Linked DNA regions of Homo sapiens: region 2 is linked to region 1. The links are contacts of gene promoters, found by promoter capture Hi-C in blood cells and fetal thymus (Javierre and others, 2016). All regions are on one chromosome and are shown on one strand. Each heading gives the region's core, a stretch centred on a gene start or on the middle of the fragment in contact. The rest is flanking DNA. Distances are from core to core; before and after follow the strand shown. Region 1 holds the start of ABCC8 (ATP binding cassette subfamily C member 8). Region 2 overlaps PLEKHA7 (pleckstrin homology domain containing A7).

The links. The method cuts DNA at HindIII sites, captures the fragments that hold promoters and counts their contacts. A CHiCAGO score of 5 or more calls a contact.
Region 2: a contact is called between a fragment that was not itself captured here and the fragment with the promoter of ABCC8 in region 1, in 2 of 17 cell types (naive CD8 T cells and naive B cells). The highest score is 6.1, in naive CD8 T cells.

What each region holds. Positions count from the first base shown.
Region 1 is chr11:17,473,649-17,479,653 of GRCh38, reverse strand. ABCC8 (ATP binding cassette subfamily C member 8) reads left to right here and starts at 2,809. Exons shown (of 39, transcript NM_000352.6): 1 at 2,809-3,025; 2 at 4,627-4,768. The coding sequence starts at 2,878. LOC124902641 (a long non-coding RNA gene) reads right to left here and starts at 3,003. Exons shown (of 2, transcript XR_007062609.1): 1 at 2,923-3,003. RefSeq lists an enhancer at 3,597-4,153. The HindIII fragment of the contact is 8,626 bases long and covers 1,627-6,005 here.
Region 2 is chr11:16,801,787-16,807,791 of GRCh38, reverse strand. It overlaps PLEKHA7 (pleckstrin homology domain containing A7), which reads left to right. Exons shown (of 27, transcript NM_001329630.2): 14 at 4,497-4,565; 15 at 4,740-4,820; 16 at 5,975-6,005. Among named protein-coding and RNA genes, the nearest start is that of C11orf58, 66 kb to the right of the region's middle. RefSeq lists an enhancer at 4,443-5,642. The HindIII fragment of the contact is 166 bases long and covers 2,428-2,593 here.

The DNA.
Region 1 (6,005 bases), core at 1,560-4,059:
TTGCTCAAAGCAAGCTCTCAGAGTCTGACCTTCTTCCAGCCCCTAGCAAGAGAAACAAAAGGCATGGCTAGAGGTGGGGAAGCACCAGAGACCCAGCATCTCCCCGACAGAGGCAGACGTAGCCCTGTTACAGACATGAATGATTTTGTATGCCACACACCGCTCTGCGTCTGTGTCTTGGACATCTTCCCCTGCCAGTAAGCATAACTCTATTCTCTGCGCTTGCTCCACAGTATCCCACAGTACAGACAATATCTGTTTTTTGTCTGTTTGGGTTTTGTCTGTTTGAACCAGCCCCATACTGATGAGCATTTGGGTTGATTCCAGGAATACAACCCATATACTACAAAGGAAGTCCTTTCATGCCTCCGTGCGCACCTGACTCCACACTTTTTCAAAGTAATTCTCCCACCCACATGGTGGGCAGTGTGGTGCATGTCCTCAGTGTAGACCTAGGTGCAGGGAAAGGTGGAATTTGTCCACAGTCACACAGTAAGTTTGTGCTAGAGATGGCAAACACGAGTCCCCAAGACTCCAGACTTAACACTCTCTTAGTCCCAGTTGATGCTCCCTTAACACCAGACTTTTTGTTTGTTTCAAATGACCCAGAATAGGCAAGTGTGAGGGTTGCACCAGGCAATGTGGGGTGAGGGAGAGACCATTAAATAACCCTGATTGATCAAGGGGCTGCCGTGTGTAGTCACCCATGGGATGAAGTAGCTTGGACTATCTCCCCAACTTGCAAAGCACATTCATACCCATGATCTCATCTTAATCTTCTGGGTTCCATATTATTATCTTTTCCATTTAGAAATAAGGAAACTGAAGTGCAGAATGGTAACCTGCCCCCAAATCACACAACTAGTAGTAGTAGAGCCAGGACTAGGAGCCCTGTTCTTTAAAAGTAAATATATTATTACTGCTAAAAAGAAAGATAGCATTGCTGAAAGTGTGAAAAAACTGAAATTGTAACTACAAAAGAAAATAACAACATTGCAGAAAATATGAAAAAAAAAAACCTTGAAAGCAAGAAAAACAAACTAAAAGAAAAAATCTTACTGGGTGACCATGGACCTGTCATCTCATCTCTCTGAACCTCAGTTGTCTCATTTTTAAAGAAAGGGAATGAGGATAAGCACAGCGACGGCAGCCAGTACATACTGAGCACCGCCTTACCAAATTTCCAAGTCTGACCTTTCCCTGCAGGCTTCATGCAAGTATACATATTTCGTACGGCTATAATCATGGGAAGCACAATTTTGTTTGCCGTTTTTCACCTGACACTATCTTGTAAAGTTTTTCTATTGACTACACAGACTCAGCTAGCACCGTCCCAGCAGTTGCATTTTTCAAGGTTGATTAACCCCTGTCCCTGGTGCTGGATATTTCTTGCCACCAAGTTTTCACTATTTTGGCTGATGCTGCAAGAAACATCTTTTGGCTTCTGAGAAATTCTCCAAAGTCAGAGACTGAGGCATTCAGACCCTGAACTCCTGCTTTCCCAAGGCTTTTCACCCAACCCCATCTGCCCTCTGCCTCAGGGCCTGGGCAGAGCCTCGGCCTTGCTGACAGCGTGCTGGAGAGGCTCACCAGGCTCAGCAGCCTCAGGGCAGGCTCAGTGAAGCTTGTAGGCAAAGGGGCTGAAGGGGTCTTTCTTTTGTGTTCCCCTGACTGTTCCTAAGAACATGTGCATTTATGCTTCATACCCTAACTAGGAAAGTTCTCCTTAAATCTAACCCCCAAATCCCATCTTCTGTTCTTTCTACATACAATATAAACTTCTTTGGGCCACAGTCTTGTGAGAATCTCTCCAAAACGTATAGGAAGACATAATGTTGTCTTTACAATTGCACGGTGTCCTCCAACTGTTAAGCCTGTCCCAGGTGAGGTTAAGAATTTCAGTCCCTCTCCACTGCCTCACATCCATCTGGCCAGATGCGTTTCTTAAACTCCTCTTTATCAGCCTGGGGCTGTCACCCATTCTACCCATTGGTCTGCCAGTCGCTGTAAGGTTGTCATGTACCAGAGGCATGAGTACAAATGATGGGGGTGGGGACGGGGGACCTGAGGAGCTGGGTTCAAGCTATGCTTCCCTGCTTGCTGGCACTGAGACCTTGGGGGAAGTCATGTTACTGGCCTCCCTTCAGCTCCCTCGCAGCTTGGGTTTCCCCATCAGAAAATTGGAAGCGATTAGAACCTGTACTTAGCAAGAGTTCTGGGACATCCCTTGTGTGAAAGTGCCAGATACGCTGTAAAGCAGTACCTAGGAGTGCCCCACCTGGGACCACTTTTGAAAATGTCCAAGCCCCACCCCACCACCACCACCACCACAAGGTAACGTTCTGCCCCACTTTTCTCATCCATGTTGGGTGGAGACTTGCGCCATCCCTCGGCTCTCTACATCCATCCGCACCACGCCCAGGTGAACTCACACTCGGGACCCTGAACCCGCCCACTCCAGGCCTTGCGGGCCCTTCTCTCCTCTTCTGCACGCCCCACCCTCCTTTCCCACCCAGACTCCAGTGTGCCCACACCCCACTCCCCATCTTAGCCTGCCTTTCCCCTCTCCCCCAGCGCACGCGTGCATCAGGGCACTCACGAAGCCACCCCGGCAACATCTGGGAGCACGCGCCTCCACATCTGGAAGGTGGGCGCAAGCGTAGCAGGGCCGGTCGGGTTCCTCGCCGCCCCCCGGCCCCGCAGGTGGTGGAGCAGGGCGGGGTGAGGGAGGGGGAGGCCAGCGGGGCTGGGCGGGGCCCGGGGGGCGGGGGCCTGACGGCCGGGCCGGGCGGCGGAGCTGCAAGGGACAGAGGCGCGGCAGGCGCGCGGAGCCAGCGGAGCCAGCTGAGCCCGAGCCCAGCCCGCGCCCGCGCCGCCATGCCCCTGGCCTTCTGCGGCAGCGAGAACCACTCGGCCGCCTACCGGGTGGACCAGGGGGTCCTCAACAACGGCTGCTTTGTGGACGCGCTCAACGTGGTGCCGCACGTCTTCCTACTCTTCATCACCTTCCCCATCCTCTTCATTGGTGAGTGCGCGCAGCGAGCCGCGGAGGAGGGGACGGGAGAGCAGGGAGGGAGGAGGAGGCGCTGCGCGCCGCACCGCTCGGCGTCCCCTTCCGGCCCGCGACCGCCGTCCGCCTCGTTCCCGGGGTCCCCTGCCCTGTGTCCTGCCCGCCGGTCCCCGCACTCGCACACCAGCTCATCCCTTCACTCCCCCGGTGCCCCCGATCCCGCGCCAAACACAGCGGACGTTTGTGACCCATGGGATCACCAAGTTTTGCTTCTGCAGGGCCAAGAGCTGGGATGGGGAAAAGGGAAAGAGGAGGTCTCAGCACGCAGTGGGAAACTGGAGAGGGGTCGGGCCTCACCCTCCGTGGCGCAGCTTAGGGAGCCGGGTCACCCCTCCCGCAAGGCAGCCTCCCTGTCAGCCGCAGCTGGGCCTAGGGAAGAGGGAAGCCTGTGCTTTGGAGTCTGGGATGGAGGCCCAGCTAACCCCTATGCTTTCACCGGGCTGAGCCGCGCAGTGGTCCGTGATCTCTGACAGTCCCAGGCCCGCGCCCTGGGCGAGGAGAGGCGAGAGCTAGGGACTTGGATTCCCTTCCCCCGCCACCCCACCCGGGCATGTGTCTCCAGAGCGCAACTTCTCAGGCTCTGCGCAAAGTAGCTCCGACTCGCCGACGCAGCGACCCCGGCGCCCTTGCTTGCAAAGTTGGGCGCCACGGCCGGGACAATCGTGCGTGCCTCTCCACTGAGGTCCCCCCCATCTCTCTCCAAGACCTTGACTCTTCCAGACCAGTCAAGTCTATCAACTCATAGGGTGTCCCCTGCATCCCCAAAACGTGTTCATTCACTTTAAGAAAACAAGCAAATCTTAAAATTCATATACAGCTTTGGGGAAGAAAGGAAAGATTGTCACAAAATTAGATTTACAAGAGGTTGCTGCAGAAGCAGAGTTGCTAGTTATTAACAAAGACAGTTAGATAGAAATAGAAATAAAACATACAAAATATGTGCTCATATGTGCATCAAAAATCAAAAAAGAACAGCATTTACACTTCTGTTCTCAGCCAAACGGTTTATTAACCTGATGACTTGTCACACAAGAAGTTAGTATGTATAATGGGGTACCTTGGCAGGGCACAGTGGCTTACATCTGTAATCTCAGCATTTTGGTGGGCTGTGACAGGAAGACTGCTTGAGTCCAGGAGTTCGAGACCAGCCTGGGCAACATAGTGAGACCCCCCCCGCCCTTTCTACAAAAAATTAAAAATTAGCTGAGCATGGTGATGTGCGCCTGTAGTCCCAGCTACTCAGGAGGCTGAGGCGGGAGGATCACTTGAGCCTAGGAGATCAAGGCTGTAGTGAGCCGTGATCGTGGCACTGCACTCCAGCAGAGGCAACAGAGCAAGACCCTGTCTCAGTAAAAAGGTGTGGTGGGGGAGGTACCAGCATAGGACCAGGCTGAATGAGTTGGACGTTTAGTTTGTGTGTACCAGCCTTGGGGATCCTCATGTGTAGGTGTCACCCTCACCATGGACCCAATGCCCAAGCACCTTTCTGGGGTTCATGCACCCTCTTCCTCCTCCAAGTGGGCAGGCATCCTGCCTCTGACTGTCTCTCCCTGCAGGATGGGGAAGTCAGAGCTCCAAGGTGCACATCCACCACAGCACATGGCTTCATTTCCCTGGGCACAACCTGCGGTGGATCCTGACCTTCATGCTGCTCTTCGTCCTGGTGTGTGAGATTGCAGAGGGCATCCTGTCTGATGGGTGAGTGACTGTCTGAGGACTCAGGAAAGTGAATCTGCTCCAGGGTACTTCCTGAAAGGCCCAAGGAGATCCTAGCTCACCTATATTCCACAAGCCCATGTCTTTTGTTACTACATCCAGCAGCTCAGTGTCTTCTATGTGCCAACCTCTCTGAGCTGGGCACTGGACGCAAGTGAGTCCCAGGCCCTGCCATCAGTCCAGGAGAGCAGAGGGAACACGGACCTGCATGCCAAGTCCCAGTGAAATAATGCTAGAGCCTATTAGAATGCCACAACTCCAGTGAAAAATGTCTGGCCTCTTCTACAACCTGCCGGAGTTACCTTCTTGGAAAAAAAAAAAAATCTAACCATGCCACCCACTCTTGCATAAGACCTTTCCTTGGTTCTCAGCTGTTTTGAAGATGTGGTCTCAGATCCTCAGCCCACCATTCAAGGTCTTCACAGTCAGCCCCACCTATCTCTGGCCTCATTCCCCATGCCCACCTTCCGTTTGGGCCTCACAGCACACTCCTCACACCTCTGCTACAGCACAGATCACACTGTATGTTAAAGTTTATGTCTATTTGCAAAACTGTCTTCAGAGTCAGAAAGGCCTAAGAGTTAGAATCTGAGTCTTGTTCATCTTTGTGTTCACAGTGCAAGGCATGTGATAAACATAAACATTATTCAGTCCATAAACATTTATTGGGTCCTTAGGAGAATGAATGAAACCATGTTACAAATAAGTACTCTGGGAGGTGAGAGGAAGGCAGAATTGGGCAAGCTCCATGGTTGAGAGGGCTTTGGAGCGGAGTCTGGAAGGGTGACTAGGCTTCAGACACACAGAGGAGGAAGGAGAGAGAGAACTGGTGGTGCCTGAGGGAAGGGAAAAGGCACCAAAGAGAAAAGCAGGTAGGGCTAGGGAGCAGCGCAGGGGCTGGAGCATTAAACACAGGCTGGGGAGCGATGGAGGCTGAGGCTGGGAACCCAGGTTGGGGCATCTCAGGAGGACTGTGAATCCCAGCCTGCATGTTTGGGTCGGATTTGGTCAGCAGTTTGGAACAGAAGAGAGATGTCATCAGCATAACACTTTTAGGTGGGAACCTGAGGTGTTCAGCGCAGGCTGGAGGCAGGGAGAATCTAGAGGTATAATAGAAGCAGGACTTAGCATTGACTGCAGTAGTCTAGGTGAGCAATAACTGCAGACAGAAATGGTGTGTCAGCAGTCAGGGACAGAAGAGGAGCGGGAGCAGCCATCT
Region 2 (6,005 bases), core at 1,261-3,760, 670 kb after region 1:
TCAGCAAGGGCTGAGATCCACTGTCCTAGGTAATGAGGACAATGTTGCCAAAAAGGAGCTATAAGCATTTGGGACCATGGGTAAGACATAATCATGTAGATGCACCACAGTTCTGGTGGAACTTAAGGTTGAGTGGGGGTGAGATGAATGCATGGCACGACTCTAAACTAGTATCTTACAGAATGTGATGAGGGAGGACAAAAGAAGAAGCAAGTTCCCTTCTATCATGTTCCTCCTTGCCTTCTGCCGCAGAACCAGGAAGGAAATGAACACTGAAATTGCACTCCCACAAAAACCAGCCTGTGCAAAAGTCCCTTCAGACAGCATATAACATTTTATAAAAAGGAGAGAGCTGCAGTCTGGGAAGGTCCCATGGCCCATGGGAGGAGCATCCACGGTCCCATGGAAGTAGCATCACCAAGATTCAGGCCTGGTTGTTTGAATTGCATAGCACACAGCCTCCTTAAAGTTTTCCCTTTGCCAGTTCCCCAAATTCTGGCTGCTTCAAGTGTCATTTGATGTCTCACCTGTTACGTTTTGTTGTATCTGCCTTTTTGTTTGGAACAGATTAAAAATAATGAACCTTTGATCAACGTGCTTTACAAAGTGCTGAAGAAGTCAGCACGGGGCTGTCGGCCCAGGAGAAGCGTAAGATGATCTGATCCGTGTCTCCAAGCGGGGTCATTCCATTGCTTCTGGCTCGGTGCCGACTTCATCACTTGCTTAACCAGTTGCTCTCCTGACCGCCCCAGGCTTCCCGCAAGTCATTTTGGTTTATTTTCTTTCAACTGAAGCTCTCTTCAGCATTTTGGCTGATGCACCAGGCTGAGCCTCTCATCTGCAGTTTTCTGTGACTCCATGTTTTGTGCTGCCAAGGGTGGGGGAGCTTGCCTGGCTTGCCACCAGCTTGTGTTGTGTTTCCATCATCACGTGTCTGCCTCCATGGCGAGGGCTCACCCAGACAGAGTTGAGCATGAGTTTCTTGGGAGGGAACAGCAGTTATTGGTCATCTTCCAAGAGCCAGGGTATCCTCAGATGCCACGGTGGCCCTGAGATTAAGGTGGCACTTTTTGGGGGCAGGCAGTTGGTATTTGGATAACAGCCTGGAGCTGGACTAGAATAAAATGCCACCCCCTGCCCATACCCTCTTTGATTGATGCAGAAGTAGGGACTGCAATGTGGCCAGCTCTCACAGCATTCCAGGGGAGGATGCAGATCGAGAAGCAGGTGTTGTGTCCAACCATCGTGAGCCCTGAGAAAGTGGGTTGGGATGTGGTGGAGGGGAGGGAAGATGCCTGGGTGGCCTTTGATTCCCCTCTGATGGAGAGACTCTTTCAAATGGATGAGCACCCACAGACTTTTACTTTTTCTGATGACAGAGATGCTGGGGGGACCCAGAGTTGATGTTTTAAGTGTATTTGAACATGGCTATAACAAACACACTTTTAAAAGGAAAATTAGATGTAATACGCTACACGTGGATATAATATTTCTTAGCAGCCTCGGCTGTCTGGAGCAGAGCTACATTCAGAAGCTTAACGGTCCTCTGAGCTGTAGAAACAGCTCTCATCAAGCCCATGCTCTAAAGCCTGTGACCTTTCGTCCATAGGAGACAGAGTCAGCTCACATTACTTTGATACATTCATGAACTCACTGAGCAAACATTGCCCGAATTTCTTCAATATGCTAGGCCCTGGCTGGGCTTTGAGGATACAGAGGAAAGGCATCCATCTCCACAGTCACCCCTAATTAGGTTACTCTCTAGTGAGGAGAGACAAATGAGCAAACGGAACATTGTACTCTAATGTGCTGGGTGCTGTAGTAGCAGCAGATGCAACGTGTGGAAAGAGCACCCTGAAGGGCATCACCCCCAGTTAAAGGGAGAGAAGAGATGTAAGTACCTCGTGTCAGTCGAGCTTATAGTCCTTTGAATTCCTAACCTACAACACCTAGTAAGCAGCAGTTTTTTTTGTTTTTGTTTTTGTTTTTTTTTTTTTTTTTTGACATGGAGTCTCGCTCTGTCACCCAGGCTGGAGTGCAGTGGCGCAATCTCAACTCACTGCAACCTCTGCCTCCCAGGTTCAAGAGATTCTCCTGCCTCAACCTCCCGAGTAGCTGGGACTACAGGTGCGCGGCACTGTGCCTGGCTAATTTTTGTATTTTTAGTAGAGATGGGGTTTCACCATGTTGGCCAGACTGATCTTGAACTCCTGACCTCATAATTCACCCGCCTTGGCCTCCCAAAGTGCTGGGATTACAGGTGTGAGCCACCGTGCCTGGCAAGATAAGCAGCACTTTAAAAAGGGACAAGAGAAATCTACTTCTTAGAAAAAGAGGTAGTACTAATATCCTGAGAGAGAGAAAAAAAAGGTTGAATGTATATTCAGTATTCCATGAAGGCAGCAAAGGGCATACTTTTAGAAAGCTTTCCATCAAAAAGTATAATTTAGAGGATTCAGCTTCTTCTCAAAATGTCCTTTTTATATAAAATATCTCATTCTTTTCCTGATGGTGCTGGATAAATGAGGCATTGCTCAATTAGATTTTCTGGCTTGTTATTTAAGTATCAAAAAGACATCCTCTGTAAAAAGCTTCAGTGAAATAAGGGGAAGAGTTTTGCTGGGGGAAAGAATCCCCAGAGTGTATCTCCATTTGAAAATGATTTCTACCTAGAAAATGAGCCCCAAAGGTCAGCCGGTTTGGAGAATAGACAACCTCCTTGTTCTTGGCTTTGATGAAAGGACGATGGCATAGAGCGAAGACTTCACTGCTTTCACCTGCTTTTTCTCCTGGGTTCCCCTGAGTTTAAAACCCACATTCTGCCTGAGAAGTTCAGCTGTTTGTGATTCACCAGGATTAACTTCATGCCCACCTCCCCACACCTCCCTGCACCGCCCCCCCCGCATTGCAGGAGACAGCACAGTCTGTTTGTTTGTGGATTGTTGCAGTCTTGTGTTCTGCAACTGTGTGTATACGTGTATGTACACATAATCTGACAGTCTGAAGAGCAGAATTTGGCTGGAGTTCTATTTTTTCCGGGAACTCAACAACACTGACCTACATGTGTTTCCCTTTGACCTACATGCAATGCAATTCAATAAGCATTTGCTGAGTTTGTGCCAGGTCTTCTGTTCAGGGCTGACTTTACCAAGATAAAACAATGGTTCCGTCCTCTTCTGTGTGACCAAAGGGATCGTGGGAATGGGTGGGGCATGTGTGTAGCCCAGAATCAGTCCTCACTCCAAGGCAGGGAGAGGTCCTCTCCCTTGACCTTTGGATTTGCTCATGACAGTTTGCAGGGAGAGGTAGCATAGGACAGTTGGGCACATGAAGGGCTTGAGCACTGAGTGGAATGTTTGCCAATTTATTTCCACCCCCAATCCACACTGACAAACTTCCTGGACCTTACAGATAGAATGGGGAGAAATCTACACCTCTCTCTCCAGCAGCTATCGGTCCACATTGGGACCTCTCTGCATAGCACACACACACCACCTGTCTCTGCCACTGTTAGCTCCACCCTCCATTTTCCTGGTCAGATCTGCAAAATAGAGCTCAGTGAGGTGGTTTCCCCTACATTAGGCAAAATAGACTTGGTTCTCCCTGGCCTTATCTTGGCCATGGGAGGGTGCATCTGTGAAAGTCACTCCCCTCAGCCCCTGCATGACTTTTGGCAAGAAAGAAATTGGGGGAAATGGAAAAATGGGATAAGTAAGATTTAGATTCTCAGGAGTCAGTGAGAGACAGGCAGCATATTGCCTACTTTGAGTCAAGTGAGGGATGGGAAATGTAAAATCCCATTGGCCCGCAAGTTTGGGTGACTTTTGTATATTGCTTTATGGTTTCCTTTCTTGTAACTTACACAAGTACAGCCTAGCCTCAGTTATTCAGGGAACAATTAAAAACCCTTGCTGGGAACTAGCCAGGTTCCTTTTTACCTTGGCCAGGTCTTCTTCCCAAATGGTAAAGGGTAAGGAAGGCTGGCCTTACCCACGGGGAAGTGGGCTGCTCAGAGACTTCATTAAACTAAGGCTTGACAATGGTCAAGGGATTTGTTTGTTCCTCTGGGTCTGCCCATCTCACCACCCTGGGCAGGGGGTGATGGGCTTCGTAACTTGTGTTTGTTCCCACGTTCAGTAGTACACCTCTGTCTTATCGGTGGCAAATCTTCCAAGATTCATGCTGATTTTTCACATTCATTTTAGGCAAATATATACTTTTAAAATTGATGATCCTTTAACTTGAACATCTACATTTTCTTTAACTCAAAGGACTTACCAGCATTACTAGAATCATCAAAAGGTTTTGGTTTTTTCCTAAAATGAAATAGGCATAGAAATAGCGAAGTATGGCCCAAGTTTTTGTCCCTCTCATACTATGACCCTACCTGCCACTGCCAAGGACTTCCACACCATCCATTATAGGATGAATTTTCTTTCCTGAGTTCTGATCTCAAACACCATGGTTAAATCTCTTTTAAATTGTTCGCCTCCCAGATGACAGGCCGGGACCTTCTCAAGGATCGAAGTCTGAAGCCTGTGAAGATCGCTGAGAGCGACACTGACGTGAGTGAGCAGAGTGACACGCTGACCCCTCAGCTGCCTCCTGACCCAGACCCCGGGTGAACAGCTTCAGGCAGGGCTTGGATGGTTCTGTAGCCAAAGGCTGTCTGATTGCAATCCCAAGGTCATGTCCTTTTCTCATCACCCCAGGCCCTCTCCACCTGTTCTTGCTTTTAGGTCAAACTGAGCATCTTCTGTGAACAAGACAGGGTCCTCCAGGACTTGGAAGACAAGATACGAGCCCTTAAAGAGAACAAAGTACGTGTCAGTTTTGAATAATCTTGGAATGGGCAGAGGGACATTTTGTCCTGTCTTTCTTGAGACATAGGCTGGACCCTCATGTTAGTATTGAAGAGCAGATGTTAGCTTATTTAAAAAAAAATGCACCAGGTGCGGTGGCTCATGCCTGTAATCTCAGCACTTTGGAAGGCCAAGGCAGGTGGATCATGAGGTCAGGAGTTCGAGACCAGCCTGACCAACATGGTGAAACCCTGTCTCCACTAAAAATACAAAAATTAGCTGGGCATGGTGGTGGGCACCTGTAATCCCAGCTACTCAGGAGGCTGAGGCAGAAGAATTGCTTGAACCCGGGAGGCAGAGGTTGCAGTGAGCCGAGATCACGCCACTGTATTCCAGCCTAGGCAACAGAGGAAGACTTCGTCTCAGGAGGAAAAAAAAAAAAGCCTTTGTGTTTAAATGGTGTTTCTTAGGGGTTTCTATCTTATAGAGACCCTCCTGCCCCCATTCTGCTTTGGCTTACCTCTCCGTGGAGGCCCTGTGAGGTGAGCCTGGGAGAGGAGCTCCACTGGCTTATATGTGATGACCCCAGGTCCCTGAACCCCAGGGAAGCAGGGTTCCTTTGGAGGAAGTGGCTGTAGTCATTACAGGGCAGAGGCCTTTGCTTCCTAAAGCTCCTTGTCTCCTAGGATCTGGGCTATGGAGGCAGCAAGTCTGGATGGGAGTGCCGGAATGGGCCAGGGGCCACCAACATTTGGCCTTTTCTATTCTTAAAGTATTTTTTTCCTTTTGCATTTTAAATTCGTGATGCTGGAGGTTGACAATATACTCTTTTCCCTAGGAGGCTAAAGAGGTTTTTGTTTTTTGTTTTTTTAATTCTTTGATTTATCCTCTTAGCTTAGTTTATTCTCTTAGTTTATCCCATAAGGAGTTAGACAGCTGTATCCCTAGTTTATAGATGACAAAATTGAGGCACAGAGCTGTTAGGTACTTTCCCCAGCCTACTCCCTAGACAGAGTCAGAGCTGGCATCAGAGCCCCGACTGTGGGCCCACATCTCAGCGCTGATCCCTTCGGCCTTGGTTAGGTCCAGTAGCTTTGGTTCCTGGTGTGGTATGGGGAGGCCTCTGGGGACTGTCCTCCTATCCTGCTGTTTTTTGGCCCTTCGTGGTGCAGGACCAGCTAGAATCTGTGCTGGAGGTGTTGC